4 separate regions of the Homo sapiens genome follow, and regions 2, 3 and 4 are each linked to region 1. Evidence: promoter capture Hi-C in 16 types of primary human blood cells and fetal thymus (Javierre and others, 2016). All regions are on one chromosome and are shown on one strand. The core of a region is centred on a gene start or on the middle of the fragment in contact, and the rest is flanking DNA. Distances in the headings are between cores, read along the strand shown.

Region 1 (3,259 bases), core at 727-3,226:
CATGCCATTGCACTCCAGCCTGGGCAACAGAGCAAGGCCCTGTCTCAAAAAAAGAGAAAAGAAAAGAGAAAAGAAAAGAAAGGAAGAAAGAAAAAAAATAGTAGAGGTTAATGATTCATTAACACTGCCAGTGCCAACTTGGTCTTAGACTTCTTTCCGGATCTCTTTTCTATATAGCAAGCAAGCAAAAAGCAGCCCAAACATCCCTCTCCTTTATTTATCTCATACCCTTTTCCCTCAACTATTCCAAAAGAGAGAGCAAGAGCATGGAAGAGAAGCTATAGGTGGTGTGCATCTGAAGTCCCAGCTACTCAGGAGGCTGAGGCAGAAGGATTGAGGCCAGGAGTTCAAGGCTGTGGTGTGCTATGATTGCACCCGTGAAGAGCCACTGTACTGCAGCTCCGGCAACATAGCAAGACACTCGTCGCTTAAAAACAAAGAGCAGGGAGTAGGACTTGTGGCTGACACATAATGGATAGATTTCTTCCATCTCTTCAGAGTCTCATAGCTGGGGATGTGGCAGGCTACAGAAGAATGGGGTTTGGGCAACTGGGGTTGGCCAATAGCAACATCTGTATTTTAATGTGGCAAAAACACTCATAGCCCAGGCAGAAATGGAGAGGGGACTGGGAAAAGAACTAAATGACCATCTGTATTCTAAACCTGAAATGAGTTTGAAGAAGAGCCATAATCTAGCTGCAGTTGGGTTAGCTCTACCTCAAGAGCAGGATGAGGCAGGCAGAGAGTAAGGGAGTCAGATGTGGGAGGGGGGATGATACACAAGTTCCCCATCACCTTAGTTTTCATTTCACTCCCACCCACAATAGCTTGGAAATTGATGAAATAGTACACACCTAATCTGGGTTAAGTTCCCCAAAAGAGCCTAGAAACACTCAGCCACAAATTACCCTCCTCAGCCTCTGGAGAGGAAAAACCATATGGTCAGCTAGGGTGGGGAGAACTGGGACTGGGAGCCAGAGAAAGAGGAGAGAGGGGTAGACCAGCCTGCACTGGAGAACGCCCCCTTTCTCCGCAACCCTCTCCCCGTCCAGAAGCCTTCGCTTGGGTCACTTCCCTCCCCTTCTCGGCCCGGGTTCTGCATCCCCTTCCTCCACTATCCCAGGGCCTGGCGGCTGGAGACGGAAGCAAAACTAACACACCGTCCCAGGAAGCTATCGGCAGGCAGATAGAGGGAGGAAAACAAGAGAACTACAAGGGGGAAGAAGGAGAAATCCAAGACAAGAGGTGACCCCCGGGCGGAAAGCCCTATCCCTTAGCGAAAGGTAGAGTCCCTAGCCAATCTCGGAATAGTTTGAGTCCTACCGTCCCCTACTTGCCCCCCGCCCTCCAGTCCAAGCCCTGTAATTTACTCTACCATTTTTCTTGTTACTGATCATCCAAAGCACCATGATGAAATTCTTTGGAGGGCCTCGGAGGTCACCAGGACCCTCGACCCACGGGAAAGCCTAAGCCTCCTCGGCAGGACACAACGTCCAAAGGCGCTCAGGGACCCAGTCGCTTGAGCTCATTCTCTTATGACCCAATGTGGCTGCCCAAAAGACGCCTGAGACCCGCGGCCCAAGCACGGGCTCGCCGGCGCCGAGTCCCAGGCAGGAGCCGCAGTGTCCTACCAAAGGGCAGGGACGCCCCGAACCCTCCAGCCTCAAAGGAGTCTTCACCCCGCGACTCCCACTGCCCGTCGCAGGCAAAAGAATAAAAAGAGAGAAGCGCCGCGCAGGGCTGACCGCGCGAGCCGGGCACCAGGTGATGTCAGCCAACACGGCGCGGGGCACGGAAGGGGCGGACTTAGAAACCGGGAATACAAAACGGAGAAGACAGCGAGAGCGCTTTTTCTTACCGCCGCCTGGTCCTCTGGGTGCACGTCCACCAGGGTACACCAGTTCCGCGTCCCGTTCATCTTCCCTCGGGGTCGCAGCACACACGCCACTTGTCCACCCCGCTGTCTGGCTCCAACTGGGCGGGCGCGCGCGGAACCGCCCCCTTGTATAGGCCCATCAGGGGCGGGGCTGAAGATAGGCCGCGCCCCCAGTTCGCGGTTTCGCAGAGAACTAACGATAGGCGAGGAGGTGAGGTGGGCGGAGCCAATGGGTCTGGGACATGCCCCATCGGTGCTCGCATAGATTTACACAAAGGTGGGGCTTGGGAGCGACATGGGGCTGCTTTAACTGAACAGCTTTATCTGGAGTATGTGGTTGCACATTCTTCATTAATCTTGTCGCTTTCCATCTTTCCAAGATCAGTGTTGGTCAGAGGGAATCACCCTGCCTGCTCCTAGTGGATGAGGAGTTGGAACCTGCAAAAGCTTCCTTCCATACATGCTCCTCTCCCTATACGTAAGCCACCTGTAGGCTTTGTGGAGCTGAGTAAACCTTTCCTCCACCGCAGAAAGGCAGGCACCAAGGTCCAGCTCACTCAGACTGGCCTAAGCCAGTCTGGCAGGTGCACTTCCTTGGCAAGAGGCCCAGGAGGCCCAGTCAGCTTAGGCTCTGGGTGGGGCTTGTTTTGCAGAAGCTCTTTTACTGACGCTGCCCTTATATAGTTGGGAGAGGCGGGACACATTGCCTTAAAAGGAATTTGTGTTCGTGAGAAAGGATGAGCCTTGACTTTTCCAGTTGCATTTTCTCCCCAAGCCTAGGCTGGGATCTTGAGGGCCTAGAAGAGAGGGTTGGCCAAGCAGGACCCTGGAGCTTCGTCCCCGCCCAGCTGCTCTTGGCAGATGGCTTCTTCACTTGGCTGTGGTCCACAGAGACAGCAGACAGAATACTTTAGGAGGAGGTCTGACCCACTCCTGAAGGGATAGTACTCCTATACCTGGCAATAGGCTCTAGTGAAGGGCCAGCTCCCTCTTCAAGGCAACACTAGGGCAGGAACAGCAGAAATGTCCCTACCTCCCAGTTAGGGACTGGGTCCTATGTCAGTTAGGAATGAATGAGGATTTTTCTACCTGGGAAGTGAATGCTGGGGTTATCACTATGACCCAAGGGAATAAAACCCAGTTCTGGTCTGTTCTACTCTAACCCTCAAAAAGGCATTTACTGCTGGCCAGGCGCAGTGGCTTATGCCTGTAATCCCACCACTTTGGGAGGCCGAGGTGGGCGGATCACAAGGTCAGGAGTTTGAGACCAGCCTGACCAACACAGTGAAACGCCATCTCTACTAAAAATACAAAAATTAGCTGGGTGTGGAGGCACGCGCCTGTAATCCCAGCTACTCAGGAGGCTGAGGCAGGAGAATCGCT
Region 2 (3,259 bases), core at 451-2,950, 120 kb after region 1:
AAACAAACAAAAACCATAGTGATCTCTCATGCTTGCTTACCCTTTTATATACTTCTCAGGGAGTGTTTGACTTTTTCCCAAAAGGTCAGTAATCTTTTTCCAGTGTCATTGTATTAATCTTATCAATTCTTCTCACTTCTTTCAGTGACCTCTTCCATCCCAGTATTTGACCTCCAGGATGGTGGACGGAAAATATGTCCACGATGTAATGCTCAATTTCGTGTTACTGAAGCTTTGAGAGGTCACATGTGTGTAAGTGATATCACCTGTGATCCAGCTTAAGTGGCTTCTGCCATTTACCTTCATTAATATTGGAAGCTTGTAAGCAGGGGCTCTAAAATGACTGAAGCTTTTTAAAGGGTTACTGTTTCTCTTGGTCTGTTTTTAGAAGAGCTGTGTACTTTGGAATGTGATGGGATACATTTAAAGACCCTCAAATAGATCAGAACATATGTGATCTTACTTTCTTAGTGTGGTAGATTTTGAAACCACACAGGAGAACAGGTTTATAGATAATAAGGACTCAAACCATATTGGCCTCAGTTCATTTTTGTTAATTGTGTCATTGGATGAATCGGGAGCTCTTACTTCCATTTTTTAGCTTTTCATTTTTTGGTATTAGTCCAGATAAAAAGGTTGGAACTTCTTCTTTGCCAGGGAGCTCAGAGCCAAGTTATACTAATGATTAAGGGACCTAAGACAGGCAGGAGGGAGAAATACAAAGTATAGCGCTTGGGTGGCATATGTGGATATACTCTAGAAAAGGAGTAAAACTTGGAAACGCTAAAAAAAACTGAAGGGTGAAAGCTGAATGAGAATACCTGAAACCAAACCGTTAACAAGGAATGGTAGTGAAGTTAAGGAGTTAGCACATTCTAGCCCCCAGGATAACCAGAATGATCAGATGTCTTTCTTTATAGTACTGTTGCCCAGAAATGGTTGAATACCAGAAGAAAGGAAAGTCCCTGGATTCAGAACCCAGTGTCCCATCAGCAGCAAAGCCCCCATCCCCTGAGAAAACAGCTCCTGTTGCTTCCACACCCTCTTCTACACCTATTCCTGCTCTGTCACCGCCTACCAAAGTACCAGAACCAAATGAGAACGTGGGCGATGCCGTCCAGACCAAACTCATTATGCTTGTAGATGACTTCTACTATGGACGGGATGGTGGCAAAGTAGCCCAGCTCACAAATTTCCCTAAGGTCGCCACATCTTTCCGATGCCCACATTGTACCAAAAGGCTAAAAAACAATATTCGGTAAGTGTTTAAGAGCCTTGGAAGTTACCTTGAACAAGAGAAGACTTACATTTTCTTATATATTTTAAGTCTTTCTCTTTGGAGAATGGACCTAACTACTATGCAGTCTTGCTGGGGTTATCATTAAATCAATAACTAGGACTATAGAAGGAGATATTGTGGTAATAAACAAAAGGTAACTGGATCGAGTAAGGGAAAGCAGTATGTCTCCTTTCCCAGAACTCTCTTAGTTTCAAGAACTCATTATCTTTCTGGGCTCAGAAAAGGATATCCCAAACAGGAAGTCTGGGGAATGGAGGGGAGCAGATAATGTTTGTTCTGTGATTTTACCATTATATTTCTAAAAGGCTACCAATTTTTTATGTTTTCTGTACTTTCTCTTTGTGCTTTATTACAGATTCATGAACCATATGAAACACCACGTAGAACTCGATCAGCAGAACGGTGAGGTAGATGGTCACACTATCTGCCAGCACTGTTACCGCCAGTTTTCCACTCCCTTCCAGCTTCAGTGCCACTTGGAAAATGTTCATAGTCCCTATGAATCTACTAGTAAGTTTGGAAACTCTTAAACTCAAGGGGAATATACCTTGCTGTTCACTCATTGAATGGCGCTGGGGGGAGCCCATTATATTTATTTACATGTGGGTAACAGTGTAGAGGAAGTACTTTTCATATTTGTAGCCAGTTCTTTACTTCATTCACCTTGTTTTTTTTTACAAGCCTGACTTTTATTTTGTTCAAGCATGGATTGAGTTCAGTGTTAGATCCTGAATTGTTAGGGGCGTTGATTCAGAACCACTGTAGAAAAACAAATGTAATTAATTTATTTCTTAGGTCTCTTTATAGAAGGAACAGTCATCTATTTGCTCTTCCACTTTAGTTAAACCCTGATAGGTTTTATGTAGGCTAAAAGATAATATTGTGAAGTACTTTATCATTAAGACATTGCTTTCAATGAAATATAAGATGAGCTGGAGTGTTTTCTACACTGTATATTTTATACATGTAGGCTGGACATAAGCTCAAAGAAATTAAGTAGGATAAAAGATAATATGGCCGGGCACGGTGGCTCACGCCTGTAATCCCAACACTTTGGGAGGCCGAAGCAGGCAGATCACCTGAAGTCAGGAATTCGAGACCAGCCCGGCCAACATGGCGAAGCCCCATCTCTACTAAAAATGCAAAAATTAGCTGGGTGTGGTGGCGGGCACCTGTAATCCCAGCTACTCGGGAGGCTGAGACAGGAGAATCGCTTGAACCCGGGAGGCGGAGGTTGCAGTGAGCTGAGATCATGCCATTGCACTCCAGTCTGGGCAACAAGAGCAAAACTCCATCTCCAAAAAAAAAAAGATAATATTATGAAGTACTTTATCATTAAGACAGTGCTTTCAGTGAAATATAAGGTAAGCTGGAATGTTTTTCTACACTGTACATTTTATAGATAGATGTAGGCTGAACATAAGCTCAAAGAAATTGAGTCATTTGCTTATGAGCGTACACCTCTAAATACACCTCTACTGGGGATACATAGTGAGGATTTAAGCCCAGTATTGAGAATACTTCTCATGTCCTTTACGGGATTTCCAGTTTTGTTGTAAAGACAAAAATTATGTAAATATAGGAAAATGTGAGAACAAGATAGTATATTATAAACATAGACATTTTAAGATATCATTGATAGGTGAAATACTTCAGAGAAGGGAAAAAATCCTTGTGGCTAGGTTTCCAAGAAAGTCGTGCTTAAATTTAAGAAAGGTTTAGATGGATGGAGAGTAGTAAGAAAAGCTTTTAGGTGATTGAAAACAGCATGATCAAAAGCATAGAAGACATATGCATATTATCTGGATGCATTTGCTACAAGTAAAAATCCTTAACTAAAAATGAATTAAACAATAAGGACTGGGTGTGGTGGCTCACACCTGTAATCCCAGCACTTTGGGAGGCTTAGGTGGGTGGATCAGTTGAGGCCAGGGGAGACCAGTCTGGCCAACATGGCAA
Region 3 (3,259 bases), core at 320-2,819, 100 kb before region 1:
CAAAAGGTTAAACCTAAAGAGTTACCATATGACCCAGCAGTTCCATTCCTAGGTATATATCCAAGAAAAATGAAAACACATATCTACACAAAAACGTGTACACAAATGCTCATAACAGCATTATTCATAATAGTCAAAAGTGGAAAGAACCCAGATGTCCATCAATTGAAGAATGGATAAATAAAAGTGGTATATCCATATAATGGAATGTTAAAATGAAGTACTGATGCATGCTACAACTTGAATAAGCCTCAAAAATATTATGCTGAGTGAAAGAAGCCAGTTACAAAAAAAACCATGATTCCATTTCTATGAAATGTCCAGAATACGCAAATCTATAAGACAGAGGATAGATTAGTGCTTTCCTAGAATTGGAGGGGATGGGAGGTTTGGAAAATGATGGCTACAAGGAATGAGATTCTTTTTGAGGTGATGAAAATGTTACAAATTTGTTTTATGCTTCAAAAGTGCTAACTTTGAGTCATAAGACATGTAAGAAGTTGAAATCAAGGTCACATCCTAAAAGTAGAGCAGACTGGATGTTGAGACCTTTTGGGAATTACCTAAAACCTTGGGAACTTGAGAAAAGGAATGAAATTACTAATTGTACTTTTATTTATCTATTTTTTTTTTGAGACGAAGTCTCACTTTGTTGCCCAAACTAGAGTGCAGTGGTGTGATCTGGGCTCACTGCAACCTCTGTGAACACACTAAAAACTAAATTGGCCAGGCGCAGTGGCTCAAGCCTGTAATCTCAGCACCTTGGGAGGCCAAGGCAGGCAGATTTCCTGAGGTCAGGAGTTCAAGACCAGCCTGACCAACATGGAGAAACCCTATCTCTATTAAAAATACAAAATTAGCCGAGCGTGCTGGCACATGCCTGTAATCACAACTACTCGGGAGGCTGAGGCAGGAGAATTGCTTGAACCCAGGAGGCAGACGTTGCGGTGAGCCGAGATTGCACTATTGCACTCTAGCCTGAGCAACAAGAGCGAAACTCTGTCTAAAAAATAAAAAAATAAAAAAAACCCTAAATTGTGCACTTTAGGTGAACGTATGGTATATAAATCATATCTTAATAAAGTTCTTATGGCTGGGTGCAGTGGCTCACACCTGTAATCTCAGCACTTTGGGAGGCCGAGGCAGGCGGATCATGAGGTCAGGAGTTCAAGACCAGCCTGGCCAACATGGTGAAACCCCATCTCTACTAAAAACACATAAATTAGCTGGACGCAGTGCTATGTGCCTGTAGTCCCAGCTGCTGGGGAGGCTGAGGCAGGAGAATTGCTTGAACCCGGGAGGCCGAGGTTGCAGTGAGCCGAGATCGCACCACTGCATTCCAGCCTGGGTGACAGAGGGAGACTCCGTCTCAAAATAAATAAATAAATAAATAAATAAATAAATAAATAAATAAATAAAAGGCCAGGCGTGGTTGCTCATGCCTGTAATCCCAGTACTTTGGGAGGCCGAGGCGGGCGGATCACTTGAGGTCAGGAGTTCCAGACCAGCCTGACCAACATGGAGAAACCCTGTCTCTACTAAAAATACAAAATTGGCCGGGTGTGGTGGCACATGCCTGTAATCCCAGCTACTCTAGGAGGCTGAGGCAGAAGAATCACTTGAACCCAGGAGGCAGAGGTTACAGTGAGCCAAGATCACGCCGTTGCACTCCAACCTGGGCAACAAGAGTGAAATTCCGTCTCAAAAAATAAAATAAAATAAAATAAAACAAAAATAAAAAATAGGCAGGGCGCGGTGGCTCACGCCTGTAGTCCCAGCACTTTGGGAGGCCGAGGCGGGTGGACCACAAGGTCAGGAGATCGAGACCATCCTGGCTAACACAGTGAAACCCCGTCTCTACTAAAAAATACAAAAAAATTAGCCGGACATGGTGGCAGACACTTGTAGTCCCAGCTACTCGGGAGACTGAGGCAGGAGAATGGCGTGAACCATGGAGGCGGAGCTTGCAGTGAGCCAAGATTGCGCCACTGCACTCCAGCCTGGGTGACAGAGCAAGACTCCATCTCAAAAAACTAATAATAAATAAATAAATAATAATAAAGTTCTTACAAAAAAAGATAGCTGAAACTATAAAACTGTAAGAAAACATAAAAGATTGGTGTCCTTGGGTTAGGTAGATTTCTTAGAACACAAAAAAGCATTATCCATAAATTTAAAAACTGATAAACGAGACTATATCAAAATTTAAAATTTCTGTTCCTTGAAAGATACTGTTTTAAAAAATGAAAAGGCAAGTCGCAAACTCAAATATTTACAAAACATCTAAGTCCCTTTTTTTTTTTCTTTTTTGAGATGTTGCCCAGGCTGGAGTGCAATGGCACAATCTCGGCTCACTGCAAGGTCAGCCTCCCGGGTTCAAGTGATTTTTCTGCCTCAGCCTCCCAAGTAGCTGGGATTACAGGCTCCTGCCACCACGCCCGGCTAATTTTTGTATTTTTAGTAGAGACGGGGTTTCACCATATTGGCCAGCCTGGTCTCGAGCTCCTGACCTCAAGTGATCCACCGACCTCAGGTGATCTGCCCACCTCAGCTTCCCAAAGTGCTGGGATTACAGGCATGAACCACTGCGCCTGGCTTATCTAAGTCCTTTTTCAAGCTACTGGAAAATATATCATATATATCTGATATATATATATCTCATATATATCTATATCTGATATATATATCTCATATATATCTATATCTGATATATATATATCTCATATATATCTATAGCTGATATATATATCTCATATATATCTATAGCTGATATATATATCTCATATATATCTATAGCTGATATATATATCATATATATCTATAGCTGATATATATATCTCATATATATCTATAGCTGACATATATATCTCATATATATCTATATCTTATATATCTCATATATATCAGATATATATAGCATATATATGATATATATGTATCTGATATATCTATCTGATATATATCATATGCTATATATATCATATATATGATATATATATCAGATATATATGATATATATATCTGATACATATGATATATATATGATACATATGATATATATATATATATATATATATATATATATCTGATAAAGGACTTGTAGAACCAGAATGTATAAAGAACCCCTACAATAAAATAATAAGACAACCCAATTTTTTAAACGGGCAAAAGAGTTAAACAGCTACTTCATCAATGAAGACACATGAATGCCCATTAAGCACACAAAAAGCAGCTCATCATCATGAGTCATTAGGTAAAT
Region 4 (3,259 bases), core at 555-3,054, 77 kb before region 1:
GCCCACCTCGGCTTCCCAAAGTGCTGGGATTACAGGCGTGAGCCACTGTGCCTGGCCAGTAAACATAATTTTTGTGAAGCTTATTTCAGGTGTTTTTTTTTTTTGCATATATATTAGGTTATAATGTAAAATGTATCTCTTACTATGAGCTGCAATTTTTTAAAAGATATTTTAAAACTGCCTAAAATTTTTTTCCAAATGTGGGCTGAACTGTACCAACCCATCCATGGGCTCTTACTGGATTGCCCAAGAAGCACAGAAAACATCTGTATAGCTGAGGTGGAAGAAAAGAATGAACCTAAATGGCTCTAACCTAAACCACCACAATATCCTTTTGTCAGCAATGCCATCATCTAATGAATGAACCTGCCAAAGATTATGCTCAAAAAGCATTTTGAGCAGTGATCATAAATTGTTAAGTGTCTGCTTGTCAATTAAGTCTCTTTGCTTATCTACAAGGTCATAAGAATTATTCCCAATGGGACTTACCTAGAAAAATAATTATCTTTGAGAGCATGGTAACAGGCCCTCATCTGAAAAAAACTGGTCAGTGGTGGATGGAAAAAGAACTGTTCTTCACAATAAGTTAAAAGACCCAGACAAATTGTTATGCTACTAATAAAATATATTTTCCTGGTTACAGCAATCTGTGGAAGTGATTTCTGAGGGGAAGGTAATGCTATTTTCAAATTTAGTTTTATTTGTTTGCAACCTCAACTACCTGTGAAATTAAAAGGAATTTAAAAATGATTGTTCTGCTGTCTTCACTGATAACCAACAGGGTAAAGATAGCAATAATAAAGGCAAAGAATGCCTGCTTTAGTCCCCTGTCTCTCATCCAATTTAACAATGGGTAATAGTGAGTAAATAAAGATATAAAATAGTTACATTTCACAATAGTAGAACCAAAGTTCAACCACTATCGACGTTTATATGAATGTAACTGAATTTTAAGCAGCCAGGTGCTCAAGCCTGCAATGCCAGCGGTTTAGGAGGCCAAAGTGGGCAGATCACTTGAGGCCAGGGGTTCAAGACCACACTGGGCAACATGGCAACCCCATCTCTACAAAAAAAAAAAAAAAGTACAAAAAAATTAGCCAGGTGTGGTAGTGCATGCCTGTAGTGCCAGCTACTCGGAAGGCTGAGGTGGGAGGATCACTTGAGCCCAGAATTCAAGTACAGCCTGGGCAACATAGTGAGACTCCTATCTCTTTAAAAAAAAAAAAAAAAAAAAAAACAGCTCTAAAAAGAGAAAATATTCAAGATCTAGAATCCAAAGATCTGGATTTAATTCTGGTTGCCATTCATTGGTACAACACTCAGTTTCCATTTCCTGTCTTATAAAATAGGGATAATACTCATATATTCATTTGGCAAGTATTTACTGAAGAATACTTTCCATGGGCCACCAGACATTTGGCTAGGGATACAACAAATACATAGTATTTGATGTAGTCCCTGCCCTTGATGAGCTTATAATCTTCCTATCTCACAGGACTGTGTGAAGATCAGATGTAAAAACACTACAGACTGACTGGGCGCAGTGGCTCATGCCTGTAATCCCAGCACTTTGGGAGGCCGAGGCGGGCTGATCACCTGAGGTGGGGAGTTTGAGACCAGCCTGGCCTGACCAACATGGAGAAACCCCGTCTCTACTAAAAATACAAAAATTAGATGGGCGTGGTGGCACATGCCTGTAATCCCAGCTGCTTGGGAAGCTGAGGCAGGGGAATTGCTTGAACCCGGGAGGCGGAGGTTGCAGTGAGCCGAGATCGCACCACTGCACTCCAGCCTGGGCAACAAGAGTGAAACGCTGTCTCTAAATAAATAAATAAATAAATAAATAAATAAAACTACAAACTATAACACACTATACACGCTGCAAAGCAGTAAAATGATTATTATAACTATTAATATTAACTTGTGCTACCTCTTAACCATCCATCTTTATTTCAAGAGCTTAGCAAGATCCAATAAATAAAGTATAGACGATCAGATAGAACAGTTAGTATTTAACTGATTTTCCACTTAGGTTGGAATTCGAGAGCCTAACAATTCACTATTTGTTGGTATAACCTTAGCTCATTACTCTCAATATAATCATGAAGATAAAATGAACTGAGAATCCAAGGCCTACAACCTACTGCATCACCCTGGGCATGTAACTGAGTATGTGGGTTGCATTACCCACACCTGGCAAAGGAGTAAAAAAATAAAGATTTCTAGGCCCTATGAAAGATCTACTGAATCATAACCCTTAAAAGGTGAGCCTGAGAATCTGTACTTTAGATAAGCACACCCAAGTGCTTCTCATGTACCCTAAAGCCTGAGAACCGCTGCCAAACAAATTTCCTTTGATCAATAACCATGATTTCATTATTTCAAACATTACCAAAATCTACCTAGAAAATATCAGTCAAATAGAATTCAGTTGCAATTGAGAAAGCGGCTTTTGAGACGGTACCTAGTCTGTGTTACATGACTCACACTTAACTCATAAAAATACTTCTTGTGGCACCAGCCTCTTTAATTCATTTTCAAACTCTCACATAAAATGAAGTTAAAAAACTGACTTTCAAAAAACAAATTGATATACACAGTTTTATTTTATCTTATGACTTTAATGAGGGAAAGTTGATGAGTCTATTATCTGGTGGCTATCAAAGAGGAAAGCATATATACTGACTAGCATAAATATATCATGATTTTGAATGCTTGCAAGCCAATCTTAGTGGTCCATGCTTAAACTAATCCTTCAAAAATACAGACAGTTTTATATCCATATCCACCACACACTAAAACCTTCCAGCAGCGTCTCTCGAGAAATCAATCAAGAGTCCTTGGAACTACTTTAACCTTAAGAAAATTAACCTGAAGTCAAATGTTACTTCACATACTATATAATTAGTGCAAAGACATATTTATTTTGGTTCTGTTTGTTGAAAGCATTCTTTACTCATTAGCCTCCAGGTACATACACATCAAAGGGAAAACACTCAGTATATGTTACACTGGGAAAAATTACAAGGTGGAAACCAGCTTTGCTAGTCAAAAAAACTTTCCATCTGCAGTAAAATTTAGAGCCCAGAGGGCTTGTTCATACTGCAGTACCAAGCCCTGTTAGAATCTAGACAGTTTTGAAAGGAGAAAAGGCAAACTGAACCATATGGGCTCCAATTTAGTTTCAGGACTAAAGATTAGGACAGAGCCTTGGTAAGCCGACTTTAAAAGAAACACAAAGAAACTGAAGCTCTTACTT

What was found. The method cuts DNA at HindIII sites, captures the fragments that hold promoters and counts their contacts. A CHiCAGO score of 5 or more calls a contact.
Region 2: a fragment that was not itself captured here is called in contact with the fragment with the promoter of TUFT1 in region 1 in 1 of 17 cell types (erythroblasts); the score reaches 5.1 in erythroblasts.
Region 3: a fragment that was not itself captured here is called in contact with the fragment with the promoter of TUFT1 in region 1 in 1 of 17 cell types (M2 macrophages); the score reaches 6.0 in M2 macrophages.
Region 4: a contact is called between a fragment that was not itself captured here and the fragment with the promoter of TUFT1 in region 1, in 2 of 17 cell types (M2 macrophages and erythroblasts). The highest score is 6.3, in M2 macrophages.

Annotation. Positions count from the first base shown.
Region 1 is chr1:151,539,026-151,542,284 of GRCh38, reverse strand. TUFT1 (tuftelin 1) reads right to left here and starts at 1,976. Exons shown (of 13, transcript NM_020127.3): 1 at 1,859-1,976. The coding sequence starts at 1,918. RefSeq lists enhancers at 1,169-1,683, 1,684-2,199, 2,715-3,231. The HindIII fragment of the contact is 3,648 bases long and covers 1-2,325 here.
Region 2 is chr1:151,421,948-151,425,206 of GRCh38, reverse strand. POGZ (pogo transposable element derived with ZNF domain) reads left to right here. Exons shown (of 19, transcript NM_015100.4): 8 at 146-252; 9 at 921-1,258; 10 at 1,656-1,810. Among named protein-coding and RNA genes, the nearest start is that of PSMB4, 24 kb to the right of the region's middle. The HindIII fragment of the contact is 2,697 bases long and covers 352-3,048 here.
Region 3 is chr1:151,641,425-151,644,683 of GRCh38, reverse strand. All of the region lies in intron 2 of SNX27 (sorting nexin 27), which reads right to left. Among named protein-coding and RNA genes, the nearest start is that of SNX27, 31 kb to the right of the region's middle. The HindIII fragment of the contact is 6,315 bases long and covers 1-3,259 here.
Region 4 is chr1:151,615,857-151,619,115 of GRCh38, reverse strand. All of the region lies in intron 1 of SNX27 (sorting nexin 27), which reads right to left. Among named protein-coding and RNA genes, the nearest start is that of SNX27, 5.4 kb to the right of the region's middle. RefSeq lists an enhancer at 1-494. The HindIII fragment of the contact is 3,445 bases long and covers 82-3,259 here.